Regions from separate parts of the Homo sapiens genome. Here region 2 is linked to region 1. The links are contacts of gene promoters, found by promoter capture Hi-C in blood cells and fetal thymus (Javierre and others, 2016). All regions are on one chromosome and are shown on one strand. The core of a region is centred on a gene start or on the middle of the fragment in contact, and the rest is flanking DNA. Distances in the headings are between cores, read along the strand shown.

The links. The method cuts DNA at HindIII sites, captures the fragments that hold promoters and counts their contacts. A CHiCAGO score of 5 or more calls a contact.
Region 2: a contact is called between a fragment that was not itself captured here and the fragment with the promoter of ZMAT1 in region 1, in 1 of 17 cell types (monocytes). The highest score is 5.1, in monocytes.

What each region holds. Positions count from the first base shown.
Region 1 is chrX:101,930,431-101,933,536 of GRCh38, forward strand. It overlaps ZMAT1 (zinc finger matrin-type 1), which reads right to left and starts at 1,597. Exons shown (of 6, transcript NM_001394560.1): 1 at 1,287-1,597. The coding sequence starts at 1,578. RefSeq lists an enhancer at 1,376-1,876. The HindIII fragment of the contact is 3,682 bases long and covers 1-2,332 here.
Region 2 is chrX:101,652,470-101,655,575 of GRCh38, forward strand. ARMCX2 (armadillo repeat containing X-linked 2) reads right to left here. Exons shown (of 6, transcript NM_177949.4): 6 at 2,812-3,106. Among named protein-coding and RNA genes, the nearest start is that of ARMCX2, 5.8 kb to the right of the region's middle. The HindIII fragment of the contact is 1,888 bases long and covers 732-2,619 here.

The DNA of each region.
Region 1 (3,106 bases), core at 347-2,846:
AGTGGCATTTATGTAATGTGCCTATACAAATATTGTAAGGGATTTTTTTTCTACTTTGCCATTCCTCCAAAGTGAAAGGTGTGAAAGGTTATGGAATAGCACACAGGGATATATCATTTAAGAATGTGAAGAAGAGATTATTTTTATGCGATAATTTTAATGGAGTATCTTCCTAAGAAAAAGGAACTTACTTTCCTCTATTTTGGTGTCCACAATCTTTCACTTTGGAGGCAAGTTAGCAACATAAGGTAACACAGCAAATTCTGGAAATTAATTACGAAATTTACATGGCAAAATGCTTTACTGGGATGCTCTGCAGTGGAATGGTCTCCACCAGCTAAGAACATTTCCCAAACTGCTTTAAAACACATTTCAATGGCAAATTTTACAGTTTGCTATTAGTAGGCTGTTTACAAGTATACAGAACTTTGTGTGAATACCGCTTATATTGATACAGTCAAGAAATATCTTTTTATGTTAGGAGTAATATGTGTTGGTAGGTACAACAGAACTTATTAAAGCCAAACCACCTTAAAGATGGACCTGTAAATCTTGCTTTACTAGGTCACATCCTCAAATAGCCAAAGAAAACTCTCCAAAGTGATTCCTGAAATCTGTACTTCTGCCACACTCTCTTCCTCTCTTTCCCTAGTAGAGTCCCCTCCACCAGACCTTACCTTCCTAAAATCCGACAGATCCTACTTTAAAGCTCAAGTATACACTTGTAACCTGCCCAAATTTCTAACGCCATCTCTCTGTAAATATTCTACTTCTAGTTTCTACACTGCAGGACGTTGAACACCAAAGGGGGTTTACTCCCCCTTATTTCTTCGGTATTTCCTCTTTTATCTCCGCCCCTTTCTCCATCGGTCCCCGTTCCCTTATCCTTGACCCTCTTGGCCCACAGCACTTCTATCTTGCCTCCTCTCTCTTCCAAATCACACCTCAGCTTCCTACAGCACACTAAGGTGTCCTGGCTGGGAGAGAAATTATGTGGTATTTTTTTTTCCCTTCAAACTCCTGCCTCATGAGTACCTGCAATTCTTTTGCCTGGGGGCCCCCATCCTTTACAGGTGGGAGAGGTAGGGAAGGCCCTCTCTGCTTCAGTCCATCTTGCACACTCGGGGCTAATACGGCGGGGCGGGGCGGGGCGAGCTTGGCCTTTACTGCGCCACGGCAGGTGGGGGTGGGGCAGTGGCGAACCGCGCCCAGCCCAATCTCGGACGGGCTGAAGAGAGGCAGCGAAGGAGATGGGGCCGCCCCCGCACCCCGGGACGGGAACTCACCTTCTCTGAGGCAAGGGCGGGTGTCTACTTTAAAACTACTGCCCCCCCTCCCCGCCGCCGCCATAGTGGAGCCGCCAAAGCCGCCGCCGCCGCCGTCGCCACAGCCACCGGCAGGCGGGCAGGCAGGGGCGGAGGTGGCGGAGGAGGCAGGAACAATTACTGCCGCCGCCGCCGCCGCCGCCGCCGCTGCCGCGCAGGCGGTGTAGGAGGAGGAGGAGGCGGCAGAGACGGTAGCTTCCTGAGGGGAAGACTCCGCCGCCAGCGGGGTGACTGTGCTCGGCGCCGCCGCCATCGCAGCGAGGCGCGCGGACAATTGCACTTGCGTCTCGATTCCGTTAAGCTCCTTTAGCCCCGCCTTCCGTTAGCCCCACCCCCTTTGTTCCTCTTTTTAACGCTTCAGCTCGAGCCTCGTTCTCGCTCCTCAGTCCACCAATCGGAGAGCTTTAAGCCCGCCGGCCGTTTCCCCCTCCCCCACTGCCTTGCGTCACCCCACCTCCCTTTGGAGGGGAAGCAACGACGGCCAAGGGCAAAGGGCAAAAAGCGCGGGATGTGAAAGCACGTGGGCCTCGCACAGTGAGGCTTCTTTGGAGATCTAATCTAAAACCAATTTAAGAGGAAAAAATGTCTGGAAACTATTGATCTCACCTCCAAAATATCTCTGAAATATATCTTCACCTGGCTTTTTTTTTCTCTTTCTTTTTTTTTTTTTTTTTTTTTTTTTTTGAGGGAGAGTCTCGCCCTGTAGCCCAGGCTGGAGTGCAGTGGTGCGATCTCACTCACTGCTACCTCTGCCTCCCGGGTCCTGGTTCAAGCAATTTTGCCTCAGTGTCCCGAGTAGCTGGGATTACAGGCATGTGCCACCATGCCCAGCTAATTTTTGTATTTTTAGTAGAGATGGGGTTTCACTATGTTAGCCAGGCTAGTCTTGAATTCCTGACCTCATGATCCACCTGTCTCGGCCTCCCAAAGTGCTGGGATTACAGGCGTGAGCCACCACGCCCGGCCCCTGGCTTTCTTAAAGCACTTAGTACAGAGAATAGAACAGAAGCTTTCATTCTGACACATTGTTTCCGTGGCCTCTTAAAGGACTGCCTATCTATCGATCTGCCCATCTTAATTACAATAACTTCCTGTGAATTCAGCACCCAATAGAAGTACTAGAATATTACTGATCACTTAAATCTCATCTTGTCCCCCCAACCTCTCCTCTCAAAGAGACCAATATCCTGATTTATATTTATTATTTCTTTGCATTTTAACATATATTCTTATCACATAGATATGTGCCTAAATAGTGTTGTTTAGTTTTGATTGTTTTCAATTTTCACAAATATTTATATCTTTTTCTAGGTAGCATTCTGGGACTTGTTTCTGCTTTTTTTTCCCTCAAGCAATACTCTTACCTCAGCCTCTGGAGTAGCTGGGATTACAGGAAGGAGCCACCATGCTTGGCCTGGGACTTGTTTCTTTCACGTAACATTCTAAGATTCATCTATGTTGTTGCTTGTAGCTGTAGTTATGCACTGTCGATGCTGTAGGATATCTCACCCTTTTCCTTATTGATGGGCACACCTCCTGGTGCCTTTGTGCAAGTCTCCCTTAAGTATTCTCTCCTTTCCAGTCTTAGATCCGTTGCTGTATTTCAAGTCCTCATGATATATGGTCAGACGTATGGCATCCACCCCACTGGTCTTCTTTCCTCTGATCTCAATCCCTCCAATCTATTACCAAGTTGTTGCCAGTCGTCACTGGCTGTCCAGTGCTTATTGGACAAAGTCAAAAGACACAGTTTTGCCCTGTTAGTCTCCCCATTCACCTCT
Region 2 (3,106 bases), core at 426-2,925, 280 kb before region 1:
AATACTATAGTACAGAATACCTAAGGAATGTTTCAACAGTCACATTTCAGGAATAATAGAATACTATATAGCTGATGCTCAATTCCTGGTACCTATTGTTATTATTTTACGAAGTTAAATCTTTCAAAGAGCTACTCTTTTAGGATTTAGCCACACCTGAACTACGCTCGTACTTTCACATGTGATATGATTTAAGGCACAAAAATTCAGACCTTAGGAAATAAAGCATTTCCCTATTGTGTGATTTGTAGCTTATTCGTTAGGCCAGACCACACATCTCTGTATGGGAATAGGTTTCACCTGAAGATTATGGAAGTTTCCACTGTTAATCAGAGCAGATAAAGCTGGTTAGACTACCTGAATAGTGAGGATCAAGCCAGGAGGTTCTGATGCATCCATCTTCCATATACGAACTCAAATACTACCTCTATCTTACCCCAGAAATACTTTTCCAGGACTGACATATTTTCAGGTTATCCTTAGTAATGGTTCAAAAATTCTTGGGTCTAACCTCACTCAGGGTCATGTTGTTACCACAGCAATTGTATTATTTATTAAATAGCCATAGATTCGATGTCATATGGGTTACAATGATTACAGTAAAACTGAGTAAGAACATTAGGCCCTAGGGTCTTCTATCAATTTTCTCCTAGGAGAAAAAGAAAAAAGGCCATCACCTCCATTATTATCACCAGTGATCTCTTCAGAAAAATCTTCAAGAGAAGCTGTCAAGCTTGAATTTGTGGATACAAGTTTTACAAATTTCTAATTTTGCATAAAAGTTCAAATTTTATTGCTGGTGACAAATCCTGTCAGTTGTTTTTCTTGAAGTCTCACTTCATTCATTTTCAAGAAAATCTCTGCTAAATACCGAAGTCTGAAAAACCATAGTTTGTCTGCCAGTCATTCTTCAAGTAAAACTAATGTTCCATGAAAAAAGCAGCTAATTCAGTGCACAACTAAAATGATTATGCAAATATTTACCTTAGAGACAACCATTGTCCTAAGCTATGTGGCAGAAATGCTTTGTGCGTACTTCCTATTTCATCACACGGAATATTAAAAAGACTTGCACTCAATCATTGAGATTTTATCATATATAATTTTTATAAATAAGGACTATATTAAATACATTTTTAAATAAATTTGGATTTAAAAAAATTAGAGCGTGTGGTTCTAAAGAATGCAATCACTACTAGTATAGTATGGGGACACTGCCTTAATCCATGCTAAGGCACCAGCAGTTTTACCCACCAATGCTTTTGCACCATCAGTGCAAATGTCAACTCGGTGAAAACAGCAAATAACATGTTACTATTGTTTTGAAAATAGTTTTGACCTTACTGTTTCAGGGACCTGCAGTAGTCCATGGACTACACATTGAGAACCATTATCATACAATATGATTCCAATTTTATGAAAAAAATACGCAGGGATGTATATAATAAACATATGAAGGAATTTTCACCCAGTTTTAATTGTGTGGACTTTTTGACTGATGCGACAGGCCCTTACACGTAGTTAATGTCTTTTCATGCCAATATAGAAGTATATCAGTTTTTAAAAAATGTATTTTTAATAGACGAATAAGAATTGTATATATTTAGGGGTAAACATGATATTTTGATATATGTATACATTGTGGAATGGCTAAAACAAGCTAATTAACATATGCATTTGCCCCCATATAGTTATCTTTTGTGGTTAGAACACTTAACATCTACTCTTTCTGAAAATTTTAAGTATACAATATACTGTTGTTAACCATAAAGGGTGTCAGGAAAGCAGGCTGGGTTTGGAAAAATCTCTCGGACCCTCCCACTTTCTAATTGCTTCAGTGGGCCAGGGAGGAAAGCATACCTGTTCATAAGTGAACTTGGGAGTGGGGATGGGGACTCCCATCAAGGCCTCACCACTGCCCCTCTTCTAAAAGATGGCAGACCTAAACCTCTAACCCTAGGAAGCCAACCACTGCTCTGTGCCAAGAGTCATTCTTTCTGCCACACTGCTTTTTTCTCATCCCAAATGGTGACTCACTTTGTCATTGTGCCGTCTCCACAGTTGCCCCCCAAATAGGGCTCTTCCCTGTCAGGACCTGCATGAGGTTATACAATCCTCCAGCTTTGTTGATCCACAGACAAGCGTCAGGCAGCAGATCTTCGTCCTTCTTGTTTTGTTTTGTCTCTTATTATCATCATACACTAACAGTTCCCTTAGTCACCACCCCACTTCACCCCTCATCATCTCTTGCTTGGCTTATTATAACTTTCTAACAAATGTCCAGTCTCCAACATAGCTCCAATCCATCTTTAATATTGCCACCAGATTATTTTTCCTTTAGTCAAAAATGTTCAGCAATTTGCATAATATGACAAGATATTATTTCAATATTTTGGCTTGGGGTTCAGGATCTTCCTCAAACTTTCCTCACTCTGAATTTTCACATTTATCTCTCATCATTCCTCTTCCCATGGCTTCCATTCCAAGCAAATTGGCTACCTTCCTATCACAGGCACAGATTTCTCACTTGCATGCCTTTCTCCAAAGCATTTCCCCCTCCTGGAATGCCCTTCTATGTTGTCCTTCAGGGTTCAGCTTAAATGCGCCCTTCCTCCTTGAAGCTTTCTCAGCAACCTCTGCTTCATTTAAACAGATAGTGTATATTTGACAAAGAGCATATGCCCAGGTACTGTTAGTAATCCTTTTGTATTTATTTATTATTATTATTTTTCATAGATCTTTGTATATATACTTTTGTATTTATGTACCTTATCTCTCCATCTGGGTTTTAAATTCAAGCATTAGAACGACTTTTTGTCAGTTGAAACATACAACTTTATTGATGATACACAAATGAAGTCTTTGGTGGATAAATTCAAGTCAAAACAAATAATAGAACAGTAGGCCATTCATAATGGACAGGTTTACTGTCAATTCAGAAGAACCAGTAAAAATATTTCTATCCAAGCAGCACGATTAAAGTCACAAATATGTTTTCAGTACAAGAGGTCTATTTATTTGGTATTCATAAAATGGTTCAGCTTAAAGCTGGTGACTGTCACAGATAACATCACTCTGGATGATACATTATTCAACACTGGCAGCT